3 separate regions of the Homo sapiens genome follow, and all the other regions are linked to region 1. The links are contacts of gene promoters, found by promoter capture Hi-C in blood cells and fetal thymus (Javierre and others, 2016). All regions are on one chromosome and are shown on one strand. Each heading gives the region's core, a stretch centred on a gene start or on the middle of the fragment in contact. The rest is flanking DNA. Distances are from core to core; before and after follow the strand shown. Region 1 holds the start of VPS37C (VPS37C subunit of ESCRT-I). Region 2 overlaps TMEM109 (transmembrane protein 109). Region 3 overlaps CD6 (CD6 molecule).

Evidence for each region. The method cuts DNA at HindIII sites, captures the fragments that hold promoters and counts their contacts. A CHiCAGO score of 5 or more calls a contact.
Region 2: a contact is called between a fragment that was not itself captured here and the fragment with the promoter of VPS37C in region 1, in 11 of 17 cell types (non-activated CD4 T cells, naive CD8 T cells, activated CD4 T cells and 8 more). The highest score is 16.5, in non-activated CD4 T cells.
Region 3: a fragment that was not itself captured here is called in contact with the fragment with the promoter of VPS37C in region 1 in 7 of 17 cell types (naive CD8 T cells, endothelial precursors, non-activated CD4 T cells and 4 more); the score reaches 6.9 in naive CD8 T cells.

Annotation. Positions count from the first base shown.
Region 1 is chr11:61,159,308-61,163,961 of GRCh38, forward strand. It overlaps VPS37C (VPS37C subunit of ESCRT-I), which reads right to left and starts at 2,119. Exons shown (of 5, transcript NM_017966.5): 1 at 2,084-2,119. RefSeq lists enhancers at 1,582-2,175, 2,176-2,768, 2,509-2,558, 2,569-2,708 and a silencer at 1,759-2,518. The HindIII fragment of the contact is 11,808 bases long and covers 1-4,654 here.
Region 2 is chr11:60,917,553-60,922,206 of GRCh38, forward strand. TMEM109 (transmembrane protein 109) reads left to right here. Exons shown (of 4, transcript NM_024092.3): 2 at 2,134-2,378; 3 at 3,334-3,436; 4 at 4,222-4,654. The coding sequence starts at 2,142. The coding sequence ends at 4,613. LOC124902676 (a long non-coding RNA gene) reads right to left here. Exons shown (of 2, transcript XR_007062688.1): 2 at 64-1,601. Among named protein-coding and RNA genes, the nearest start is that of TMEM132A, 4.6 kb to the right of the region's middle. RefSeq lists an enhancer at 1,285-2,484. The HindIII fragment of the contact is 2,902 bases long and covers 1,470-4,371 here.
Region 3 is chr11:60,982,244-60,986,897 of GRCh38, forward strand. All of the region lies in intron 1 of CD6 (CD6 molecule), which reads left to right. It also overlaps the pseudogene RNU6-933P. Among named protein-coding and RNA genes, the nearest start is that of CD6, 13 kb to the left of the region's middle. The HindIII fragment of the contact is 569 bases long and covers 2,347-2,915 here.

The DNA of each region.
Region 1 (4,654 bases), core at 869-3,368:
TGCATTTGTTAATAGATTTCTGGGCCCTCCTCCAGACAATAGCCCAAGAATCTCTAGAGGTGGAGCTCTGTATTTTTAACAAGCATCAGAAATTATTCTTAAGGTCCAGCACCTTTGGGAAACTAAACGGTCTGAGAGGCAGTATCACAGAGTTAAAAGCACATTAACTTCGAAATAAGACTGATGGGTTACAAATCTCACTTGTGGCCAGACGCAGTGGCTCACACCTGTAATCCTAGCACTTTGGGAGGCCAAAGCGGGTGGATCACCTGAGCTCAGGAGTTCGAGACCAGCCTGGCCAACATGGTGAAACCCCGTCTCTACTAAAAAATACAAAAATTGCTTGCAGTGAGCCGAGATCCCGCCACTGCACTCCAGCCTGGGCGACAGAGCGAGACTCCGTCTCAAAAAAAAATAAATAAATAAATAAATAAAAAATACAAAAATTAGCCGGGCGTGGTGGTGGGCACCTATAATCCCAGCTACTTGGGAGGCTGAGGCAGGAGAATCGCTTGAACCAGGGGGCGGAGGTTGCAGTGAGCTGAGATCACACCACTTCACTCCAGCCTGGGCGACAGATCAAGACTCCGTCTCAAAAAAAAAAAAAAAAAAAAAAAAAAATCCAAACTTGGCCACTTACTGGCTGTGTGACACTAGCCAGGTTATCTAACATCTCCGCAACTCACTTCATCTGTAAAACGGGATCATCACCTATTTGGACATGTTCGCAAAATTCGGTATGTTCAGAAAGCCCTAGAACAGTGCCCAGCATATGAAGCCAAGCAACAAATCACAGCTATTGCTACCTGCAAAACAGCGGCCAGAAACTGCTCAGAAAGTCTACAATGAAAATGTTCTACTTAATGGAAATTACAAAGGCACGGAACCACATTTCCAAGATAATCTAGGTAAAAGGCTTTTCTGGGCACTATGACCGCAAAGAACAAAGACTCAGTTTAGCGTCCAGTATTTTCATTGCAACAGTCCCCGATCCCACCCGGAACTACAGAGTTCAGGTGTCTGCAGGGTTGCAGCTTTGGACAACAAAGTAAGAGTCTTTCTTTCCCCAGTTCCTCGGTCACCACCACCTCCAGCTCTAAGGCCAAAAGTCACAGAACTGAGAGTCTGGTGGCAGCATCTTGGTGCATTAGTAGGAAATGGGACTCCTGGAGCCAATAAAGAGGGTGGAAAAGGCCTTAGGCAGCAAGAGAACTGAGGTACCGCTGGAGCGAAGGGAAATGAGTGGGAAGTTTCTGGAGCTGAAGACTGACATTCCCAGGGTAAGTGAGCCCAGACAAGGTGTAGCTGGGAAAGCACTGCCTCAGCTCAGCGACTAAAACCCCAGGTTGTAGAGTCCACTCTGCCAGTAACTCACAAAACACCTCCAGTTAACTCCTTCTCCCATCCGTAAAGTGGGAAATCGCCTCATCGGCTGAGGAGGAAATGAAGAGGAACCAGGCATATAATGGGTATGTATACATCAGTGCCCTTTGCGCCCAGAGGGTCCCGGGGTAAGAAATGTTCAGTGATGCTGGGAGGTCCAAGTCTGAGTCCTGAACAAAGCCAAAGCTGAAACTCCCATCTCTCAATGCCCTGGAGAAAGGGCACAAGCCAGTAAGTCACAGAGCAAAGTCCCTCCAACCTCCCCTCTGCCACTCGTCTCCCGCGTGCCCTCTGGCAAGTCGGACCCTACTCTTAGGCCTCAGCTTCCCCATCTATACAATGGGCTAATTGGCTCTAATGTCATCAGAATTGTGACCGCAAGATGCTCACATATGGGACGAGGGCCTGCAGAGACGCAGAAAGGAGGGTGGCGGTGAGTGGTGGGGCGGAACTGGAGGTGCGACCCGCCGGGGAGCCGGGGCGGCGCCTCGCGCTCTCCCTCCCTCCCTCCCACCGCGAGGGGCAGGGGCGCCGGCCCCCGGCGAGAGTCACGCGCCCCTCGTGCCCAATCACCGGCCTCTGCCAGGATGAGGCGGGCAGGCGGGGGCGCTCCGGGAGCCACGGCCGGCGCCGCCCCCACCGTCGTCCTCTGCCCCGCCCGCCTGCGGCAGAGCCGGGACCCTCCCCAGTCTCCGCTCACCTGCCAGGGCCGCCGTCGCCGCCGCCACCGCGGGTTAAACCGCAGCCGCGCCCACACTTCCGGGGTCCGCCAGGCCCGCCCCCTACCGGATGTGACCCCCTTGCAACGTCCGGCGCCCCAGTGGCGCGCGTGCTCGCCCCGCGACCCCGTTGGCCGCCCCGCCTCGCGCGCCTCTGAGTTACCACGACATCGTGCCACACACACACGCTCGCGGCCGCCCGGGCCACAACCACGGGAGCGCCCACGAGACCCCTCCAGCGCTCGCCGCACGCCTCGGCCCCGCCCCCGGTAAGAGGCCCCGCCCACTGGGCGGAGACCAGGCCGCTCTGGGCTAGTGCGCCGGCGCGGACGTCCGCCGCCTTCCGAGTGGCCAGCGAGGACTCGCTCTGTACACAGCTCGATCTTGGGAGGCTTCTCAGAGGGACCCAAAAGGAGGGGGAAGCAGATGGAAGCCCAGAACCTAGGAGGAGCCCCAGATGGGCTGAGCTCAGACTGAGGAGCCCCAAGGCCACCACACACTCATTTCCATTTACTAGTTAATCTCTTTCCCCCACCCATTCATTCTACAGAATTACCAGTATTCCCCATCTCCTCCCTTCCCCCCTGGAAACAGGAGAGTCCAGCATAATAAGGAAGCCCCCTCTGCTCTAACCCTTAAAAAAAGGAATCTGAAGTGACCTGATGTTAACTAATCAGGTGTTTTTTTTTTTTTTTCTATTCTGTTCCCTTTCCCACCTATGAAACCCACTGCTCTGCTATTTCCCAGGGGAATTTGAGACCAAATAAGTCTATTTACAATGGTAACTGATGTCAATGTCTAAAGTTTCCAACCTCTCAAAATCAAGAGGTTGACCAAAAGGGGAGAAGTGTCCAGTTTAGCCTAAAGTTGTCTCCTGGCGTATCTTAAGTTTGTCCTAAAGGTTTCTCCGTACATAGTGAACTGGATCCTACTCATACCAATCACAGAGTTTCAGCCAATCACAGGCAGCCACCTGTTCAAACCTTGTTCCAATAAGGCAAATGTCAATCTGTCATTGGTAGGGAACCAAACTGGATCCCTTTGCCCTCAGAAAGCCAAACACCGAAGTATCAGGTTTTTGTAGAGGGAAAGATTTGTTGCAAGTCAACTGGGAAGGAGACATGCTCAAATCTGTCTCCCCAAGCCAGGGGCTGTGACAGGTGTTATAGGCAGAGGGTAATGAGCAGTGATCTGATTGAATCTTGCAATAAGCAATGATCTGACTGGATCTTGCCATGGGATGATGCCATGGCTCAATCTGATTAGATCATGGCTTATACCATGTATCTACTTCTTAATTCTGTTCCGGTTCTTTGGTCTGAGCATTTAGGTTGCGCCTGTGGTTGCATGCTTGGTTCTTCTGGGCACGCTCAGGTTACATAACTTGCAACCTGGGATCATGGCAACTGAAAAAACAACTCACCACTTTATTACACAAAGTTGAACCAGATGGGGCTGGTTCTGCGCTTACATAACTGGTCCAACTGTTTCTGTACCTCGCTTCTGTTTTCTGGACATCTATTTCCTTTTTCTTTTCTTATTTTTAAATTTTAATGATTATTTTTTAATAGAAATGGAGATTCGCTATGTTGCCCAGGCTGGTCTGGAACTCCTGGACTCAAGCAATCCTCCAGCCTCGGCTTCCCAAAGTGTTGGAATTACAGGCATGAGCCACCACGCCCAACCTGCTTTCCGTTTTCTATCCCTAAATGTTATCCAACCACCTGGCAGCCTCAGAGTCACTCTGAACCTATTCTGGTTCTGGGGGCTGACTGATTCACAAATCATTATTTGCTCAATTAAACTCTGTCAAACTGAATTTGTCAAAACTCCTTCTTATAACAGAAGGGGTCCATGAAGAAGGTCAGCTGCTGACCCTTCTGAGACACTGGTGACTCCTTTGAGCGGGGGCATGTTGGTTTTGCAAACATTTCACTTGGTACAGAATGTCAGAGTGACTCCCATTGACAGCACCTGTTTGAAAGCTAGGTTGAAATTGTTTCTGAGGGTTAGGGAGGGCCAGGGCAGATGACCTTAATTTTTTGTCATAAGCCTTTTTGTGCTATGTGATTTTTTTTTTTTTTTGAGACGGAGTTTCTCTCTTGTTGCCCAGGCTGGAGTGCAATGGTGTGATCTCTGCTCACTGCAACCTCCGCCTCCTGGGTTCAGGTGATTGTCCTGCCTGAGCGTCCCAAGTAGCTGGGATTACAGGCGCCTACCACCACACCCGGCTAGTCTTTGTATTTTTAGTAGAGACAGGGTTTCACCATGTTGCCAGGCTGATCTCGAACTCCTGACCTCAGGTGATCCACCCACCTCGGCCTCCCAAAGTGCTGAGATTACAGGCGTGAGCCACCACGCCCAGCTGCTATGTGATTTTTAACTCTGCATGTGTTTCATTTCTGAAGGAAAATAATTAGGAAACACTATTGATGGATTAGCTTGAGTTTATATCCAGCAATCTCTTCACTGATTAGTACCATGTTGGAAGGTGGGACATGGACATGATGGCTGGAGCAAGTGTAGTCATCTTGAACCATGAGGCGACCATA
Region 2 (4,654 bases), core at 1,671-4,170, 240 kb before region 1:
GTTACAAGACCAGAGCACAAAGCACAAAGTTGTTAGGTAATTTTCACCAGTAATTCACTGAGATGATTGGTAGATGCCAAGTTTATTTTAACTCATGAATAATCTGTTGTGTGACTTTTTTTTTTAAGCGTCTTGCTCTCTTGCCCAGGATGGGATACAGTGGCATGATCATAGCTCACTGCAGCCGTGACCTCCTGGGCTCAAGTGATCCTCCCCCCTCAGCCTCCCAAATAGCTGGGAGTACAGGCACGCACCACCACACCTGACTAATTTATTTATTTATATTTATTTTGTAGAGACAGGGTCTCCTATGTTGCCCAGGCTGCTCCCAAACTCCTGGGCTCAAGCAATCCTCCCACCTCAGCCTCCCAAAGTGTTGGGATTACAGGAATGAGCCACTGTGCCTGGCCTGTATGACTTTCTAAATCACTTCTGAGACTTAGTTGGAGACAATACAGCAGAGTTGTTGTGTATGAGGGGTCCAATGTCAGAAGTACCTACATTCAAATGCTGATTTCCCCAGTTAATACTTAACCTGCCTCAATTACTTCAGTAAAATGGGGGATAATAGCAACACCTACCCGATGGGCTGTTGTGACAGTTAAATGAGCGCGGTGGTGCATGGCAAGACCTAGCTGAATGTTAGCTTTTTATTAATAGTATTTCTTTAAAGGTTGTTCATTATACCCTTGCTCACTGTCCTCGTCCATTTTCTGCTTCCTATAACAGAATGCCACTGCCTGCGTAGTTTATAATGAACAGAAATTCATTAGGGTCACAGTTCCAGAGGCTGGGAAGTCTAAGGGCATGGCGCTGGCATCTGGCAAGGGTCATCCTATGGCAGAAGGCAGAACCCAGCACATGAGACAGAGACAGGAAATCAGGCCAAAGTCATCCTTTTTATCAGGAGCTGCATTCCTGGGATAACTAATCCACTCCCAAGATAACGGCATTAATCCATTCATGAGGGCTGAACCCTCATAACCTAATCACCTCTTAAAGGTCCCACCTTTTAATACCATCATCATGGCAATTAAATTTCTTTCTTTTTTTTTTTTTTTTGGTGGAGAAGGGGTCAAACTATTTTACTGAGGGGAATGGGGTGTCAAAGAAGTACTTAGGACCATGAGATCCAACATCCTTGGCTGGACTGGGAGCTCCCAGGCTCTGCAGGAGGTGCAAGAACAGTTAAATTTCAACATGAGTTTTGCTCTTCAAACCATAGCACCTCCATTGGGGGTGGGGAGGTGAGGTCACTCTGTATCAGTGGTTCTCAACTTCATGCAGTGGAACTGCCTAGGGAGCTTTTGCAGATCCAAGGCTAGGCCACACCCAGACAATGATATCAGAACCTCTGGGCTGGGGACACAGACATCAGTACTTGGGAAGCTTCCAGGTGATTCCAGTGAGCAGCCATGGTTGAGACCCACAGTATAACTTGACTCCTAATGAAGATGGGTGGAAGCAGAAGCTTGGGTTCAAATCCTGGCCTTTCTGTGTAGCCCAGTGACCATGGGAAAATGCTTAACTTCTGAGTCACAGTTTCTTCTCGTCTGTACCAGTAGGGGCGAGGAGGATAAAAGCCACCTCACATGATGGTCCTGCAGAGAAGATGACATATGTGCAGTTATTCTTGTTTGAGCACATAACTGAGCACTTTTCTTTATACCATTATATGGCAGTAATCCTACTTGTGTGCTATTTTTAAGTTGTTTTTTATACCAGCTGTATCTTAAGTAGATTATAAGCTCCTTGGGACAGAGCCTTTATAGAGTCTTATAATACTTTTATGCCTATAGCACCTAAGATACAGGGACAGGCCTTCAGATTTTTAGAACTGGCACAAACCTTAGAGAGATCTTCTCGCCAACTCTAAAGTGTTGAATAATACTTGCTGGTTAATTAATATGCAAGTGGTAAAGAATGTGAAAGAGGAACCTGTGAGTCAGATGGTTGTGCCCAGCTTCAGTTGGAAGTCCCAGTCCTTCCTCTCCCAGCTAACAGCACTTTCTTTCCAGGGTTAGTTTGGTGCTTGCTTGGGGTAGGGGTGGAGAAGGATGTTGGGATAATCAGAGCTGAGAGGGTGAGTGTGTCTACCATGGCACTCAGCTCACTGTGCTTCTCTCCTGGCAGACCCAGTCATGGCAGCCTCCAGCATCAGTTCACCATGGGGAAAGCATGTGTTCAAAGCCATTCTGATGGTCCTAGTGGCCCTTATCCTCCTCCACTCAGCATTGGCCCAGTCCCGTCGAGACTTTGCACCACCAGGCCAACAGAAGAGAGAAGCCCCAGTTGATGTCTTGACCCAGATAGGTCGATCTGTGCGAGGGACACTGGATGCCTGGATTGGGCCAGAGACCATGCACCTGGTGTCAGAGGTAAGGAAGGTAGTCCCTGTGTGACTACACACATTAAGGAAAAATAAAAGAAGAAAGGTTGGTAATGGCCACCTCATCTTAGTTCCACATCCTCTCTGGTGCAGAGAGCCCCAAATTCCACAAAAAGAAGCCACACAGCACTTGTCTTTGAATTCCTCGTTATTTGATTGCTGTCCTAGGGCCTTTTAGCTCCACCCCTATCCTTTCCTGGCTCCTGCCCTTTCCTTGCCAGAAAGGCTGGGAAATGAGCCATCTTTATAAGCCCATGTTACTGGGTGACTGTAGAGTCTCACTTTGGTCTAAATCTGACCTAGAATCTCGAAATGGCAAAATATCAAGTCCTGAATCCATTCCTTCACCTGCAGAAGTGGGTTGAGCTTATTGGGAGCCTAAGGCAGGGTTATCTTTTTTTACCTGGTGGCATCCCAAGCATGGTATCACATACTTTTGATAGGCTGGACTGAAGGGCTGAGACAATCATTTATTAAATCCATAATATAGTATAGCTGATAGACTCCTTTTTCACTGGAACATCCTATCCCTTTACAGATGTTCTCCACGCACCTTCATGACTCCCTGGACAGCTAGCAGGCCTCCAGTTTTATAGGGTGACTACTAAAAGTATTTGATTGTCTCCGTCATTCACACACAAGTACACCTACTACTCCCTCCAAAGTATCCCAGCAAAGCAGTTAAATTATGTCCCAGATGCCCTAGTTTCCAGTTCAGGAAGGAGAGACAGCCTGTTGGCCATCCCTGTAGACTAGAAGGTGGATGTGGAAGGGACCCCTCAGCCAGGCCCAAGGCCCCTACCCTCTGACCCAGGCCTGTCACCACTGGGTGAGAAACAGGTCTGAGACATTCCTGCAGTTCTTGCCTGGACAGTGGTGATCAGGCGTGAAGGCGAGGACCGTTGTTCATTATGAACTCATCTCGCTCCGTGCTCTTTCCACAGTCTTCGTCCCAAGTGTTGTGGGCCATCTCATCAGCCATTTCTGTGGCCTTCTTTGCTCTGTCTGGGATCGCCGCACAGCTGCTGAATGCCTTGGGACTAGCTGGTGAGTGTTCGAGTGCTGGGTAGTCAGCCAGAGCTTTGCCTGTACTTTCCTACTTGTGGGAGTTCATCTTTGTCAGGGTCTAGCCTTTTCCCCAAGCTGCTTAACCCTTCCCAGGATTCTGCAGAGACATGGCCAAAGAGCAAGCCAAGAACTACCATGGCCAGGTGTGGTGGCTCCCGCCTGTAATCCCAGCACTTTGGGAGGTCAAGGCAGGAGGGTCACTTGAGGCCAGAAGTTTGAGACCAGCCTGGGCAATATAATGAGACCTCGTCTCTATAAAAAATTAGCCAAGCATGGTGGCGTGTGTCTGTTGTCCCAGCTACTTGGGAGCTGAGGTGGGAGGATCGCTTGAGCCCAGGAGGTAGAGGTTGCAGTGAGCCGGGATCACGTCACTGCACTCCAGCCTCGGCGATGGAGCAAAACCCTGTCCCACCCAGACCCCCTAAAAAAGAACTTCCGCCACCACGTGCCAGTTGTTCACTTCCTATCAGGCATCGTGCTGAGCTGTAGTATCTCATTTAATTGCCAGCCACAGTACAGGGAGGCAGTAGAATTGTTCCCGTTTAGTAAATGAAACTGCAGCTCAACAGAAGCAAGTAATCTACTCCAGGCCTCACAGCCAGCAAGAAACAGAGCTGAGATTCCAACCCATATCACTCTGAGTCTGCGAGAACGGCTTATTCCTTTGCAATGTGCCTAGCACCTCCCACCCTTTTAGCTCTTGCCCCGCTCTCCCCTCACCACTTCTCCAGGTTGGCTGACTCTGTGACTCTCTTGGCTTCCAGGTGATTACCTCGCCCAGGGCCTGAAGCTCAGCCCTGGCCAGGTCCAGACCTTCCTGCTGTGGGGAGCAGGGGCCCTGGTCGTCTACTGGCTGCTGTCTCTGCTCCTCGGCTTGGTCTTGGCCTTGCTGGGGCGGATCCTGTGGGGCCTGAAGCTTGTCATCTTCCTGGCCGGCTTCGTGGCCCTGATGAGGTCGGTGCCTGACCCTTCCACCCGGGCCCTGCTACTCCTGGCCTTGCTGATCCTCTACGCCCTGCTGAGCCGGCTCACTGGCTCCCGAGCCTCTGGGGCCCAACTCGAGGCCAAGGTGCGAGGGCTGGAACGCCAGGTGGAGGAGCTGCGCTGGCGCCAGAGGCGAGCGGCCAAGGGGGCCCGCAGTGTGGAGGAGGAGTGAGCCGGATGCCCCACACACCGCCAGTGTCATACCAAAGAGCT
Region 3 (4,654 bases), core at 1,381-3,880, 180 kb before region 1:
AGTCATGTACTGAGCCCTGTGGCAGGGAGAAGGCAGAAATGAAGTCACTGTGTCCTCGGAGTCAGATGCAAAGCCAAGCGTGACTCTGTTCATTTTACAGAAGGACAGACTGAAGCCCAAGAGCTTAAGTAACGCCGCCAGTGGCTGACAGAGCTGGGAGCAGAGTCACTTCTGGTCACTGGGGTTTGGAGGGAGGATGTTTATCTGCACTTCAGTACCCTTTTTGCTAGGGTGTTCACCTCTTTCAGGAGGGGTGCCTGGGAGCAGGCGGGCGCGGGGAGACAGAGCTGAGGAAGCCCCCCAGGCCTGGAGGAGGCCCGTTCCCCACTCCATTTGGTGTGCTCTCGTTTTGCCTCCCTCCCTCCTTCAACCAAACTAAAGGATGCACAGTTGCCAAATGGATTCAGCTCCTTGGAGAAATATGTTGCTTTGCCGGGATGGGATTCTAGAAGTATGACAATGTCTGAGCTGGAAGAAACCCCAGCGAGCTGCCAGCCATCTCCTGTTTGTCAGAGGAGGAAAGCGAGGTGCGAAGTGGGGAACGACATGCCCCAGGGTCTTGGAGCAGGGCTGAGAAGCCCAGTCTGCAGGGACTCTTTCCAGGGCCTCTTCCCACGCTGCCCAGCAGGGCATGGCGGGGCCTGTGTGAACCAGGCACAGGCTTAACTAACTCCCCACCCCCACCCCTAGAGAGAATGCGGGGGACTGCTATGGCCCAGTGTGGCCTGACATGGTCTGACATGAACACAGGTGACCCTGGGCAGTGACATGCTGGCTTCATGTAGCTACTCTGCCCAGCCCCTCCAACGGCTCCTCCAGTCCTCAGGCTCTGCCTCCTCTTTGTTTTTTTACTTCACTTTTTTTTTTTTTTTGACGGAGTCTCACTCTTGTTGCCCAGGTTGGAGTGCAGTGTTGTGATCTCGGCTCACTGCAACCTCCACCTCCCAGGTTCAAGCGAGTCTCGTGCCTCAGCCTCCCGAGTAGCTGGGACTACAGTCCCGCACCACCACGCTAGTTTTTGTATTTTTAGTAGAGACGGGGTTTCACCATGTTGGTCAGGCTGGTCTTTAACTCCTGACCTCAAGCGATCCTCCTGCCTCAGCTTCCCAAAGTGCTGGGATTACAGACGCGAGCCACTGCACCTGGCCTGTTTTTTCACTTAACTTTTAATTTCAGGCTAATTTCAGACTTACTGAGAAGTTGCAAGAACAATACAAAGAATTTCCCCATGCTCTTCCCTCAGACTCTCCAACTGCTAACAATTTTCCACATTTGCTTTATTATTTCCTCTCAATGTGTCTGTTTTTCTATTGCTTTCCCCCTAAACTGTTTGAGAGAAGGTTGTAATGTCCCTTTCTCCTAAATACCCCAACGTGTGTTTTTGTTGTTGTTTTTTTTTTTTACATACGGACATTTTCTTACATAACCACAGTGTACTTATCAAAACCAGATAATTAATGCTGATACAATTCTATTGGATAATCGACAGAATTTATTCAGATTTTGCCAATGGTTCCAATAATATCTTCTAAGACAAAAGAAATTTTGTTCAGTATGCTGCGTTTAATTCTCGTCTCTCTATTCTCCTTGAATCTGGAATGATTTCTCAGATTTTCTTTCTCTTTCATGTCATTGATCTTTTTGAAGCATAGAGCAGTTATTCTGTAAAATGGCCCTCATCTGGGTTGTCTGATGGTTCTTCATGGTTCCATTTAAGTCATGCCTGTTTGGCAGGAATATCACAGAAGCACGTTTTGTCCTTCCCAGTGAATCATATCAGGAGGCACATGGGCTCTCCATGTCCCCTCTCCGGTGGTCTAACTTGCTTGGCTAAGGTGTTGTCTGCTAGATTTCTCTGCTGTAAAGATAATTTCCTCCTTTGTAATTAACATGTATCTTGTGGGTAGATTCTTTGAGAATATGTAAATATCTTACTCTTCCTCAAACCTTTGCCCACTAGTTGTAACATTATTGTTGATTCTTGCCGGAATCAGTTATTATAAGGATGGTTACCTGGTGGTGATATTATAATTCCACCATTCCTTCTTCATTAATAGTTGCTGACTCGGCTCTCTTTGCTGCCTCCGTGGGAGGGAGGCAGGTGGCTCAGTGCATGGCAGGCTGGTACTAATGAGGCCAAGGTTTGAGCTCCCTTTCCACTGTGCCTCTGGTGGCTGCTGTCTTGCCCCGCCTCGGATATTGGAGTCCGGGTCAGCACCTCTCCACCTTAGGGCTAGTTCTCCCTCCATCTTTACAGTTTTGCCATTCATTTGTTGAGCTACTAGTATGTGTTAGGCACTTTTTTTCAGCCACTGAGGATACGGGACAAAGTCCCGGTCTTCAAGAAGCTTCTATTCTAATAGGGAAAATAGACCAAAAACATAAACACATTTTTAAAATAGTATCATTTCAGAGAGGGATATGTGCACCAAGGGAAATCAGGCAAAGTAAGGGGACTGAGAGCGGTTGCACTGGAGACACAGGCAGAACCTCGGAGGGGATATAGACCTGAGTGATGAGATGAGCTGGGAATGCTGAGATCAGGGAGAGGACATTCCCGTCAGGGGGAGGAGCAGGGGCGGAGGCCCTGAGGCAGGAATGAGATTGATTTCAGACTGATGGAGGAGTGAAGGAGATGGAGTTGGAGAGGCTGGCAGGGCTTGAGGGCATAGATAATAGGGTTTGGAATTAATCCAAGGGAAATGGGAGCTCATCAGAGAGTTTTAGGTGTAGAAGGATGTGATTTCATTTGCCCTTCATGCATATACAATTACTTAAGAATTTTGTACATCAACTCCTTTTTTTCTTTTTTTAAACAAAGATATAGAACGCTTCACGAATTCACGTGTCATACCTGTACAGGGGTCATTCTAATCTTCTCTGTATTGTTCCAGTTTTCGTATATGTACCGCCGAAGCTTGCACCCACTCCTTTTTTTTTTTTTTTTTTTTTTTTTTGAGACTGAGTTTCGCTCTTGTCGCTCAGGCTGGAGTGCAATGGTGCCATCTTGGCTCACTGCAACCTCTGCCTCCCGGGTTCAAGTGATTCTCCTGCCTCAGCCTCCCAAGTAGCTGGGATTACAGGCATGCACCACCATTGCCTGGCTAATTTTTGTATTTTTAGTAGAGACGGGGTTTCGCCATGTTAGCCAGGCTGGTCTCAAACTCCTGGCCTCAGGTGATCTGCCCGTCTCAGCCTCCCAGAGTGCTGGGATTACAGGTATAAGCCACCGCACCCGGCCACCCTCTCCTTTTATAAACTTAAGTTTATTTGAACTTAGAAATCTGTCACTATCATGTATCTCAAACCAATACTACTTAAGTAAATAGAATATATATATATAAACAAAGAAAACACTGAAACCAAAAGTGTCATTAAATAGCCTGCCGTCCAAGCATGAGCTGTCTCTCCATTCATTAAGAAGTGTTAGGTGGCCAGGCACAGTGGCTGATGCCTGTCATGCCAGCACTTTGGGAGGCCAAGACAGGCAGGTTGCTTGAGCCCAGGAGTTCAAGAGCATCCTGGGCAACATTGCATGTCCCCATCTCTGCAAAAATAAAATTTAACAAAAAGTGTTAGGTGTTAAAGACTAAGTAGCAGCACAATGAGACTTTCTCCTTAATGCAGTCGGACAGAAAAATTGGAAAAGGAATAATTTGTTTACTGCATGATTCAGTTCCATTTAATCTTATATGTTAAACTGTCTTTCTGACTCAGACCTGATTTGAGAAGCATTTTGCTAACTGGTGGAAGGATTTGACAGGCCCAGCCCACCCATTTAACCATGGAGAAACTGAGGCCTTGGAACGGGGCAAGGACTTACCCAAGGTCCTGGTAATAGCTGCTCTCCATTCTACTCACCCTCGGTATCACTCCCACCCAATGCTAGCTGAAAATTCAGATGTGATGTAAACATTAGTCATCCTTATTGTAAAAACGTTATAACAACCACATTAGAAGGAATGCAAAGAGAGAAAAGAAGTCTCAGCCAGCACCTTCACACAACCCGGCTGTTTGTTCTTGAAGGAGGAAGTTTTTGAGTCTGTGGAGCGTCATGGGCCTTCAGTCTCACCAGCAGGAAGGTGGGTGGCTGATGGGTGCCGGGCTGGTGTTGATCCACACTTGTCAGGTGGCTCTGAGACCAGCCTTGACTCCAGGCTCCACCACTTCCGCCATGACCTTGGGCAAGTTCCCAAAGCTCTCTGAGGTAAAATGGGTGTGGCCATGTCACTCTTCAGCTTTTGCGCTCTAGGTAGATGCTAAAGCCTTCCCTGAAGATCTCTATGGAACTTTTAGTCACCTGCATCTGTGGGGGCTGCCTCAGCCCTAACCATGTCAACATAGTGTTGAAATTCAGTTCCGAGAAACACTTGTGGGTTTGTAGACTCTATGGCATCTGGAAGTGAAAGAGGGACACATCTCTCCCTCTTACGGGTTCCTTCCCCCGCTCTCAACGCCCCTAATCCAGAATGCCCTAGAAGCTCTTCTCAGCTCCCACCTTCTGCCCCGGAGGCAGCTTTTGTTGCAGGTACACCTGTGGTTTAGTTTACTAGAGTTGCTGCAACAAACTGAGTGGCCAGGGCAACAGAAATGTATTGTCTCTCCCTGGCGCCGTGGCGCACAGCTGTAATCCCTGCACTTTGGGAGGCTGAGG